Linked DNA regions of Homo sapiens: all the other regions are linked to region 4. Evidence: promoter capture Hi-C in 16 types of primary human blood cells and fetal thymus (Javierre and others, 2016). All regions are on one chromosome and are shown on one strand. The core of a region is centred on a gene start or on the middle of the fragment in contact, and the rest is flanking DNA. Distances in the headings are between cores, read along the strand shown.

Region 1 (2,747 bases), core at 159-2,658, 600 kb after region 4:
AAATAATGCCTATTTCTTTGAATGTCTCATTTTTTGTGTGTGTTGTTGGAAACTGGACCTTATATATAATATATGGTAGCAACTCGTATATAATATATGCTATCAACTCTGGGCATTGATCCTCTCCCCCTTGAGGCTTGTTGTTGTTTATTTATTTACTTAGTGATTTGCTGGAGTATTTTAGTTAACTCTGTTCCCTCCTTCTTCCCCTCCACACACTGTAAAGCCTGAAATGTTGCTCCTTGGAGAATGTGGTTTTGGGCATATCCACAGTCACCCTGGGATTTGTTTTTCCAGGACTCTGTCTGGTTCCTTGATCACACCTCACTGTAAGTTACACTAATTGCTGGTGGATTTCTGTATTGTTTTAAACAATGCCCTGGGGACTTAAATTGTTCCAAAGACTGATCCAATTAAATTCCAGCTCATTTTCAGGGGTGGTTTGAAGTTAGTGTTTTAGTTTTCTTCTGACCACAGGAGATTTTTTTTTTTAAACTGTCACTTTTTTTTTTCATTTCATCATAAATTTATTTTCAGGCAGTATGATAATCTATTAATACTCGGCATACTCTGAACTTACAGAATAAGTACCACTCTATACTTCCTCATTAATGACTATCATTTTACATGAGCTTCTTCTACAATCACAGTGAGAGAACAGATTGCTACATGTTTGCTAAATACATTCAGTAAGGCACTCAAATCCTAGACACGAACTAACCACAGAACGCTCTTCCCCGCTTTAATAAATTGAAACATGATCTCATTTCCTTCGTTTTCAATGCTTTTTATAGAAAGACACGCTTGTCTTGAACTTGTCTAAACAGAGGTTTATATAAACTAATCCATTATCATGTATAGTTGTAATCAAGGAAATGATTTCACATTGACGGTTTTTAGGTAGGGATAAGTAAAAGCACTGCAGCAGTTTCTGAGGGAATGTCTTCCCTGTGGTTCCTCATACTTAGTACAATGCCTGGAACGTAGCAGGGACTAAATACAGTGAACAAATGGGCAAACCTTTAATTCCCAGGGATCTGCTACATATTGCCTTGACTGGTAGATCATTTCTCCAGAAGAAAGGAAGAAACCAAAAAACAAAAATAATCTTTTTAAACCTCACAGGATTTTCTTAGAAAAAAGTTTTAATTGAAATTCTCTTTGTAAAATGTATTTAATAAAAAATCCAAAGCAAAAACCCTATCGTTTATTTACTTCAAAAGACAAATCATTTCAGTACTTCTTCCTTGAAATGCCTGCCATTTCTTCCTCTGGCCTCAGAAAAGGGCATCGGCTCCATGCTTTACAGTGTCAGGATAAAAATCCAGGAGGGAGAAATCTTGTTGTAATGGATAGCTGCTTTCATCTAACACAAAAAGGCTCTGAATCTTTGATACACAAGGTTCTGCGCTGACTGCCGACAAGGAGTGTAACAGGTCTGCCATGACCATCCCATAGGTGATCTCTGAGGAAGTAACTATCACTCTGTTGAGGCAGTCTGCAAAAATGTTGAGAAGAATCTTCTCTATCAGCTTTGAGTCTACACGGATGTAAACATCATGTCTTCCATCAACTACAGTCATTAAAGCTGGCCTATAGTATATTTTCTTCATAGTAAATGGCAAGCAGCTAAAACATTGTTTGTAGATCCTGTTCTTATCTGTTTCTAGTTCCAATCCATATTTTGCGCAGCCAGTATATATGATGTTGGGAAGAGAAGAAAAGAAATACTCTTCAGAGAACTGTGAGCATTTAGAGCTATCTTCTGAGCTGCCGTAATAGGAAATGACAGCTCTGAAATCTGGGCTTTAATTAGAACCACTCCTGAACATTTATCCTCTAGGTGGGTTGCTAAGTCTGATATCTTCCAAAAGGAAGGTGCACTTTTTTGAAATTTTGCTTTAAATGTAATTGCCCTTACATCATCATCAAACAAGCACTCACAGGATGACCAAGGCATTGTATGCGATTTTAGGTTTTCTAGTGTGTAATTGCGCTGAACAAAAAGATATTTAAATTCCCAAATATAACCTTTTTTCCTTTGCAGTTGAGGGTACCAGGCTGCTCCAGGACTCCATAATACAAGCACATAATGTTGATCTTGGGCCTGTTCCACTGTTAACATAACTTTTTCTGCTTCTGTCCTCTATAACTGTATACTGCCTCTGTCAGTATAGTGAAATCAACAACTCTTAGTATTGTGTGGACTAATACATCAGGCTGAAGGTGCTCCAATTCTATAAAGTCTATACTGTTCACCCTCTGAGGCTGCCTCGGAGGAAGATCTCTGAGGTAGGAATGTTTTGAGGACACCTGTGCCAGTAGGTCTTGAAGTACAACATCACTAACTACACTGGAATATTCTTCAGGCTGAATAGATGAATAACTCCCAAGATTTAATAACTGACTGCTAAATGTTGATTGTAGTACTGTCTCGCCAACCCATTGGTCCTCATGAATAACAACATCTGCGAGTAAAATTATATCTCCAAGAAACACTGTATATGCCCAAAATGCTGCAGTCCTCTACAGAAAAACCTTCTTAGTTTCTGATTGATCAATTACTGTAACTGTTGCTAAAGGCACTTTAGAGCCAGAATTTGGTCCGAATTTTATGTTTATTTCCTTCACATGACATGGAGATAGCACCATGACTAAACAATCATACTTCTGGCTTTTAGAATCACAGTTTTTTATTAATGACTTTTTTTAATACCCTTAAATTCAGACACATTCCTCTGATCCAT
Region 2 (2,950 bases), core at 375-2,874, 580 kb after region 4:
CCTTTCCTGCCTACATTACTTTGAAAGAAATCCCAGACATTATTTCTTCCATAAAAATATTACTGTGTATGTGTCTCCAAAGATAAGGATTATTTTTCTACTTACCATAAACAATACCATTATTATACCTAAAATGTAATAGTTTTTGATATTAAATATCCATTATTATCTTATAGTTTTATTTGATTGAATCTAGATCCATTTAAAATTCATGCATGGTGATTGGTTGATATTTAAATCTATTCTAATCTTTATGTTCTTGCTCTTTTTCTTTCTTTTAATTTGTTGAAGAACGGGGTTGTTTGTCTTACAAACTTTGTGTCAGTCTGGATTTTACTGATTTCAACCCCTACAGTTTAATATAACTTGCTCATCTATCCTTTTTCAATGGTTTTTGAAATTGGTAGTTTAGGTTAGATTTAGGTTAGGTTAGATTTAGGCTTAATTTTTTTTTGCAAGATAAAATTTCTTAATTATATTTAAACATTTTATACATTGAAATTAAAATGAAAGTTTTGCTGTTGTTAAAGCTTTCATAAATAGTTGAAGTCTTGAAGGAAAACAAAGTTGTGTTAATCTTAAATATATTTTCTTATAAAAATATTGCATGAAAATATGGGTTTTACTGTATCTTCATGAAGGACTTGGATATGTACTTCATTTTTTATTGATATAGGTATTTTAATGTAATGAATTTTCCTCTGAGTACTGCTTTAGTTTTATCTCATAGGGCTGTTTTATCATTAATTTCTAATTTTATTGCACTGTGGCCATTTAATACCAAATGTATTATTTACATTTTTTTGGGAAATTTCTCAGGAGCTTATTAAAAAAAAATCTGAAAAAATACCTTCGCTTTTTTCTTGACTATCTCAAGAGCATATTTTGATTTATTAAGATGTATTCTTTATTAGGATACAGAATTGAGTTTATATATAACCTTTTGGTTATATTGTTCAGGTATTTTGTATCTTAACGATTTTGTCCACTTGAACTGTTCAGGGCTACCCAGGTGTGTTTGTTTCCTTATGTTAGTGGGGTCTATTTCTCCTTTCAATCTTAGGCAGTTTTTGCTGTGTGGAAGCTTCTGCTTTGTTATTTGGTACGTAAATACTGGAAGCTTCTGCTTTGTTATTTGGTATGTAAATACTGATGAATGTTTTATCTTCATTATGATTTATTTCTTATCATTAGAAAATGCCATTCTTTGTCTCGTTTAAAGCTTCTTGGCCTGAGTTCTGCTTTCTGTGTAACTAAGAGATCTATGCTTTCTTTTCATTAGGATTTGCCTAATATATTTTTGCCCTTTTATTCTTTACCTTTCAAGGCCGTTTTCTTTTATGTGCATTGCTTGCATATAGCATAGAGTTAGATTTTGCTTTTTTAAAGTTCCTCTGAAAATCTTTATATTTTAATGAATGAGTTAAACTCATTTTTAAATATAACTGATGTTTGTGTTTTCTATACTACTATATTGTCTTTTGTTATTGAATGATTTATACTATCCATGTACTAATACAAGCTATTCTGCTATGTGATTTGTTTACTTTGCACTTATTTAAGGAGGTGTTTCTTTTGTTATTTAGCAAGGTTTGGTTTTTGTTCTGTCAATTACATTTATACTGATTTATACCAGTATTTTCAACTGAGAATAATTTTGCCTCCCAGACGGACATTTGGCAATGCCTGGAAATATTTTTAATTGCCACAAATAGGTAGGGCGGTGCCACTGGAATCCGATGGATGGAGGCCACGAATGTTTCTAAACATCCTTTAGTACACAGGATAGTTTTCCCATAACAAAAAATGATCCAGCCCAAAATGTTAATAGTGCTGAGGTTGAGGAACTGCTTCATACTAATACTCTTGGTTTCTTCTTCGTTTAGTTATTGTCTGTTGGTTTACTATGAGCAATACTAAAATTATTTGATAACTTCTTCCTCCCTTTTTCTCCCCTACCGTGGAATTTTAATTACCAGAATTATCTTAGTTTTAATTTTTGTACTCTTACATGAACTTAAGCTTCTACTATATTGATTTGACAGCTACAAGTTTTAACTGTTTACTCCCAAATAATCTGCAAACTTAGTTTACATTTCACCTTCTTTCCTTCTTGTCCTACTTCATGTAGCTGTATTAGTTGTACTTTAGCCAAGTGTGTAATAGTTATATATATAATTTAATTACTATTTCTTTTAATCTCACTCTACCATTAAACATATTAAATGCTCACCTTCAAGTCCTTTGCCAAAGTTTCTCCCTCATTTTCTTGGATATCAGAAGTGTAATTATCTATTAAATGTCTCAGAAAGTGCTAATGGAAACAATATTTCTTGATGTGTTCAGATGTTTGTTGATGTTTATCTATGACCTTTATACTTGAAGGACAGTTTGACTGGATATAATCCTTTTTTAATTCTCAAATATGTGTAAATATATCATAAAATTTGCTCCATTAGTTATTTACATAAAATGTTGCTATTGAGAATTTTGACTCCAGAGATATTTCCTTTTCCTTATAAGTAACGACACAATTCCTTTATGCCCAAAGAATATTTTTATTCATCTTTAAAGTTTAGTTGTTGTATACACTTTACCATTTCCAGATATATAGTATATGCTCTCTTAATGTCTATATTTAAGTATTTTCTTATTTCAGTAAGGTTTACTTAAGTTATAAGTTAAATCATTATTCCACTCCATTACTTTGGTTTTCTTTTTAGAAGCACCAGTTATACTTTGGTCTTATTTGCATATGCCTTTATTTTGTATTTCTCTGAATTTTTCTCTATCTCTTTATTTATGTTTTCTATTATTTTATCCTTACTATTCTATATTCCTCACTGTGTTTTCCACAGTGTCTGTTCTGTCTTATGTTCCTTCTAGTTTAGCCTTCATTTCCAAAGTGTGTTTTTGAAAATAATTCTTCTATAATTCTCTCATTTTAATT
Region 3 (2,941 bases), core at 442-2,941, 620 kb after region 4:
TTAAAAATTGGCTCTTGTCTTGCTACTAGGATGGATAGGACTTTGCTGGCTTGCACCCACCTCACTCCCCTACTCCTGTTATTTTGTGTTTCATCAACTATGGGCATTCTGTTTCCTCTTGAATCTCAGCTTTTGCCACATACTCTGAGGGTCTTCTGTAACTATCTGCACTAAAGTAGTCTGTCAGGCACCCATTGTCACCTTGACCTGGCTTAATTTTTACATGCTACTTATCTTTTAGCTCTCATTTTGTGTGTGTGTGCATATCTGTCCATCTCCTACTAGAATATAAGCTCCATAAGAGCAGGGACCTTGTCTTTCTTGTTCATCTTAAATTCCCAGTGCATTAAACAGTATTTGACATATAAATCTTCTTTGCGTAAATAAAAAAAACAAAACATCATCTTCTATGTTGCCCATATTCCAAATTACAGCTAATGTGAGGATTTTGTCACTGACTATCAGCCACCTGTTGAATTCTTCTCAGCACTTGTCAGGTGACTTGTCCCAGTTCTGTTGCATGGTGGGTAGCACAATGGACTTTGAAGTCTACTATATTCTACTTGCAAGTATTTTATATTGCACAGCTTCAATTTTCCCATCCATGATATCATGAAGAACACTTTTCTTATGAAGATTCAATGAGAAAATAAATAAATATATATATATATATAGTACCTGATATGTGGTAAGCACTTAATGAGTCAAGTTAATATTTTTAGGAGTAGGAGTGTTTGGAACCAGACAGACCAGCATTCGTATTTCCTCACTAACACATGCTGAGACTTCTAGCAAGTTATTCCACCTCTTTGAGTATCCATTTCCTTATCTGCAAAATGGAGATAACTTCTGTGAGGTTGTTTTGAGGGTTAAATGTGTTTCATTCTTATATTCAACACATTTTTATTAAGCCCCTACTGTATGCACTTTACTAAGTCCTAGGGATACAGCAGCGAACGAAACAGACAAGATTCCTGCTCTCTTAGAGCATATATTCTTCTAGGACAGGGGTTGGCAACTTTTTCTGTAAAGGGCCAGATAGTAAATATTTTAGACTTCGTGGGCCATGTGGTCTCTGCTGTGGCTACCCAGTTCGGCTATTGTAATGAGTAAAAAAGCCATAGACAATAGACAATAATGAGAAAAAAAGCCATAGACAATGGATGTGGCTGTGTTTCAGTAAGATTTTATTTATTAAAAAAAGGGCGGTTGGCATGTAGGTCATAGTTTGCTGAGCCCTATCCTGAGATAATAAACTTGTAAATAAGTTTATAAATGATTATGAAGAAAAAATAGAGTCATGAGATAAAGTAGCTCTGTTACCCTGATTCTCTAACCAGGGAGGTGAGGAAAGACCTCACTGAGTGGGTAGTACTTGAGTGCAGACCTGAATGCTGGGAAGAACAATTTGAGCAGACCAAGTGGCAGGTGCAAAAGGCAGGTGTAGCTGACATTGTGTGAAGAGCAGCCTGGAGGCTGGGGTGGCTGAAGTCTGGGGAGTCAGGAGAGATAAGGTCCTGTTAGACAGGTTTTGTGCTTAATGTGATCTGTGATTTGAGTCCCTTGGCTCGGTGTTAATATTGAGTGTTTGATGGCAGCAGAAGATGTTCAGTAAGCACTTCTAGAGCTGAAGATAGCTGTGCAAGTCTGTAGTAATAGGAATGTGGCTCTGAATTTGGAGCTAGGTAACTTGGAGTGAAAACCTGTGACTTTGAGCTTTAATCTATTAAGCCTCAGTGTTTCCACGCATAAAATAAAAGAACTAAATTAAGGCCCATTACGTTATACTTCCAAGACTTAAAAGCAGATTTATTCTGGTTCTTGGCCCAGTGCTTTGAGTTTTGAGCTCTTCACCTTCTGAGAGTAGCTAGTTTTATATGATTGACTGTAGTTAGTATGCTGTGAATATGTGCTCATAAATGTACTATCATAAAGATAATAAGAGCTGAGATTTATTGTTTACCATGTGCCAGGCACTGAGCTAAGTAGAATGGCAACATTCGGAGGAAGGTGTAATTTTTTCTTTCACTGTCAGTGACCAGTAAGTCACACCTTATAGATGCCTCCCTTCTTCCACCCGCTGCACCCTACTCCAGCATCACTTTAACTGATGGTTACTGTTTTTCCAACTTAAGGGTAGGAGCTTCATATGGCTTTGAAGTGATATTCTATTCATGGCAACAAAACACAAAAACTAAGGTTAATTATTTTTCTTCTGGCTGGGCAGAGGCTCCTTAATGAAAACCTTAAGGAAGCAATGAGGTAGAAGCAGATGTTTTGACTCCAGCAGTCATGTCTGAAGAGCTGGTGGCTGTTAGCCACACCACTTGTACATGTGACTACTTATAAATAACTTTTGTTAAATTTTAATGAGCTTTTTTCTAAAACTTTATAATAATGCCTGAAAAGTTTTGCATTTTGTTGGTTTTAAATTTTGGTGGAGCACAGGAAATATTGAGGTATTCCTTGTACTTTGGGAACGATTTAAGTAGGTAGATAAGAATTTCTTCCTAGAGTTTTTTCCTGTATTTTAAACTTTTGCTCAAACTTGTGGAATTGTGTTTTGCTGTGGTTAAGTCTTGAGTGAGTAGTACATTTGCTCCACTAAGTAGTGGGCCATACATGATCAAGAAACAGACTTCAGAGGACCATTTTCATATGGTTTCAAGGAATGTGTTTCTTTCTACTCTAGGGTCATTTCACCTCTGGCATGCTGAATGACAAGTCTCTGTGGACAGACATCCCTGTGAATTTTCCAAAGAATGGCTGGGCTGCAATTGGAACTCACTCCTTTGAATTTGCACAGTTTGACAACTTTCTTGTGGAAGCCACACGCTAATACTTAACAGGGCATCATAGAATACTCTGGATTTTCTTCCCTTCTTTTTGGTTTTGGTTCAGAGCCAATTCTTGTTTCATTGGAACAGTATATGAGGCTTTT
Region 4 (2,838 bases), core at 85-2,584:
AGGCTGGAGATGATAATGGGAGAAGTCACACATGATTCCAGTTTTTCTACCTTGGGAAGCCAGCAAAGTGACTTCTTTTTAGATCTCTTTTCTTTGCTCACACACAAATTGACCCCCTCATAGAGTTCAGTTGAAATATCAATTACAAACAGAATTGATCTATTTTTTTTCCCTTAGAAACACAGGTAATCTTATTTGCCTTTAGCTAAACGACCCAAGATGCACCTTGCTGGGCTTTGCTCTTGGATAGCACTCATACCTCTATGACAATGCTCCCCACTTTGGCCTTGTACTGCGTGTGTGGTGTGCAGGTGCGTTTATCACCCACTAAACCAAAAGTCCGTGTTGTGCAGGGACCACGTCTCATGCAGAGTTAAGTATTCAAAAGTTTTTGTTAATTGTTTAAGAAAATGAGATTTACATGAAACAATACTTTAAAAAGCTTTCCAGAAACAACAGCATTAAAACAAAATCACTGAAATTAAAATTTACATAAATTAAAAGGTTCTGTGTTCCACATGCCAAGAAAAGATCTTACACTATTGTAATAGTGGTAGGGTCACACAGTTTTATTCCTCAGCTTAAGTGCTGCAATACAGTAATAATGCAGTACAAGAATACTGTATAATAAACCTTAAACGAAACACTTCATATATACTTTACACAAGTTATTGGATATTGCTTAGTATTTATTTCCCCCACCCCTGCTGTGCAAAGATATTAATATCCCTCTTTTATAGGAGAGGAAACAGGTAAAGAGAAGTTAAGAAACTTGCACAAGGTCATCCAGCTAGTAAATGTTGGAGCTGGGATTTGACAACTTTGTCAAGTCTCCATCCTTAACAGTTCTGCTCTATATTGCATAAGCAGACAGCTCCCTTTTGGGGACTGACAGGTTATTTGAGGCATATGAACCATTTTTGGTGGGGGGGCTTTCCCACCCAGTACTGGAAGTGTCTAGTTATATGGGGCATAACCTTAGGAGCAAGCAGGAAAAGAAGAAATGTATTCCAATAGTGTTCAGAAATATACCAGAGTAAACGAATAACCATCAATAACAGCATTTTACAGCCTACCTAATAACACAGGAATAAAACCCTTTATCTGGAACCTAAATAATACCCCCTCCACTCATTTTATTAAAAGCCTTGCTTTATTTGGAAACTCTTAAAATAAGTGGTCATACGATTAAAAAAAGCAGCGGCGCGCCCCCTCCCCGGCGGCCGGGCGCAGCTGTCCGCGCCTCCCCCGCGCGGCTGCCCGCATTCCAACTCTCTGAGGTCACGGGCCGCCGCCGCCTCCCCGGATCCGCCCGCCCGGCTCAGGGGGAGGGACGCCTGGGCCCGGCCGCCCCGCTGCTCCGGCCGCGCGTCCCGCGTCGGTCCGACGGTCTGTCCGTCCTCCTGCCACCCCCCGCCCCCACGGGGCTTCTTTGTGCGGCGCTCCTCGCCGGCCGGTCCCACCTCCAGGCCTCGCCCCTCGCCGTCGCCACCGCCGGACTCTGCCCAGGGGAATGGTCTGCGAGCCGGGTTTTTGGAGACAGGAAGTGAGGCGTGCGAGCCCCATGAGCGCGCCGCGGCCCGGGCTGGCGTGCGGGTGCGGCTGCGGCGGCCGCGCGGCGGGGCCCCGGGAGGCGGGTCGCTGAGCGGGGCGCGCGGCCCCGAGGATGCGGGAGCGGGAGCGGGAGCAGGTGAGGGCGCGGTCCCCGGCCGGCGGGAGGGGCGGGCGGCTGGCCCGAGCGGTGGGGTGTGTCCACTCGCCCGGACCCCGGAGCGCGCCCGCGGCCCCGGAATCCCGGAGAATGGGGCGCGGCGGCCAGACCCGTAGCGGGAGCGTAACAAAGAGAAAAGTCTTGTTTTTCAGGTTCGCTCTCATATACTTGAGTAATTTCTAAAAGGAGTCTTGAACTTCTATTCCGAACGCCCTGGCCGATTGTTGCGGGTTAATTCTGGATCAGGGTTTTAAATGTGTTAGGCATATTTGTGCCTCTCAGAATATATAAACGTGAAATTCGCCAGATAACTTTGGCGAGAAGGGGCGCAGGGAAGGACTGTTTGGTAACGCCTGGGTTTGTTTTTGGAGTAGAGTATTTACTCTGGAAACAAGAATTCTTGGATCTGCAAATTCCGACTTGTGATTTCTGCAAATCCTGATTAGATTGGCCGCTCTTGGCATGCTCGTCCTATTTTCTTTTTTGCTGAGAAAGCCTTATACTAATAGCGTATGCTCACAAACACATTCAGAACATTCGTGTGCTCCAAGTGACAACTGCTGTATGCCTAATAGTTGCTGACAGTTTATTTATTTTTTTAAGTTTGGGACACGACAGTAATTTTACTCTGAATATAGTCCGTTTCGTTTCTAGGGCATTTTATTCTGGAGCATCTACGCACAGATGTTTTCTCCGTGAGAAACATGGGTTTAATGCTATAGCTATAGATATTACTCTAAAAATGTCACATACTCTCTCCTTTTAGTGCTTATTTTATTTTAAAGCAACTTTGGCAAAATTACATGTGGTAAGGACCTTAATAGGAAAGGGGAAACGCTGTAAGATTGAGAGGTAAAGTGTATTTGAGGAACTTTTGGAAAGGGTTGTAGAGAGGGAAAATTAAAATGAATTCACAAATAGTTCAGACTGCCTTTTGTAAACTTGTACTGAAGCAGAATCTAGTATGTATCTGTTTACTTACCACAAAACGGAAAGATTTTGTAGAGAAAAAATTATATCCTAGTTTTCCTTTAATAGCTATTTATAAATTATGTTTACTTTAGTAAATTATAATTCCAGACCCAATCACTTTCATATTATTGCATATTATTTTATACCTGAAACAG

What was found. Contacts are between HindIII fragments. The CHiCAGO score rates a contact against its expected background, and 5 or more counts as called.
Region 1: a fragment that was not itself captured here is called in contact with the fragment with the promoter of PTPN21 in region 4 in 1 of 17 cell types (total CD4 T cells); the score reaches 5.4 in total CD4 T cells.
Region 2: a fragment that was not itself captured here is called in contact with the fragment with the promoter of PTPN21 in region 4 in 5 of 17 cell types (erythroblasts, naive B cells, total CD8 T cells and 2 more); the score reaches 7.0 in erythroblasts.
Region 3: a fragment that was not itself captured here is called in contact with the fragment with the promoter of PTPN21 in region 4 in 4 of 17 cell types (monocytes, M0 macrophages, naive CD8 T cells and 1 more); the score reaches 7.6 in monocytes.

What each region holds. Positions count from the first base shown.
Region 1 is chr14:87,953,734-87,956,480 of GRCh38, reverse strand. All of the region lies in intron 10 of GALC (galactosylceramidase), which reads left to right. It also overlaps the pseudogene SHLD2P2. Among named protein-coding and RNA genes, the nearest start is that of GALC, 38 kb to the left of the region's middle. RefSeq lists an enhancer at 1,122-1,291. The HindIII fragment of the contact is 4,341 bases long and covers 1-2,747 here.
Region 2 is chr14:87,972,607-87,975,556 of GRCh38, reverse strand. The region is part of intron 7 of GALC (galactosylceramidase); the gene reads left to right. Among named protein-coding and RNA genes, the nearest start is that of GALC, 19 kb to the left of the region's middle. The HindIII fragment of the contact is 800 bases long and covers 1,225-2,024 here.
Region 3 is chr14:87,934,630-87,937,570 of GRCh38, reverse strand. GALC (galactosylceramidase) reads left to right here. Exons shown (of 17, transcript NM_000153.4): 17 at 2,693-2,941. The coding sequence ends at 2,839. Among named protein-coding and RNA genes, the nearest start is that of GALC, 57 kb to the left of the region's middle. The HindIII fragment of the contact is 5,069 bases long and covers 1-2,941 here.
Region 4 is chr14:88,553,503-88,556,340 of GRCh38, reverse strand. PTPN21 (protein tyrosine phosphatase non-receptor type 21) reads left to right here and starts at 1,334. Exons shown (of 19, transcript NM_007039.4): 1 at 1,334-1,690. LOC124903405 (proline-rich protein 2-like) reads left to right here. Exons shown (of 2, transcript XM_047432047.1): 2 at 1,281-1,684. The coding sequence ends at 1,645. RefSeq lists a silencer at 1,327-1,376. The HindIII fragment of the contact is 3,064 bases long and covers 445-2,838 here.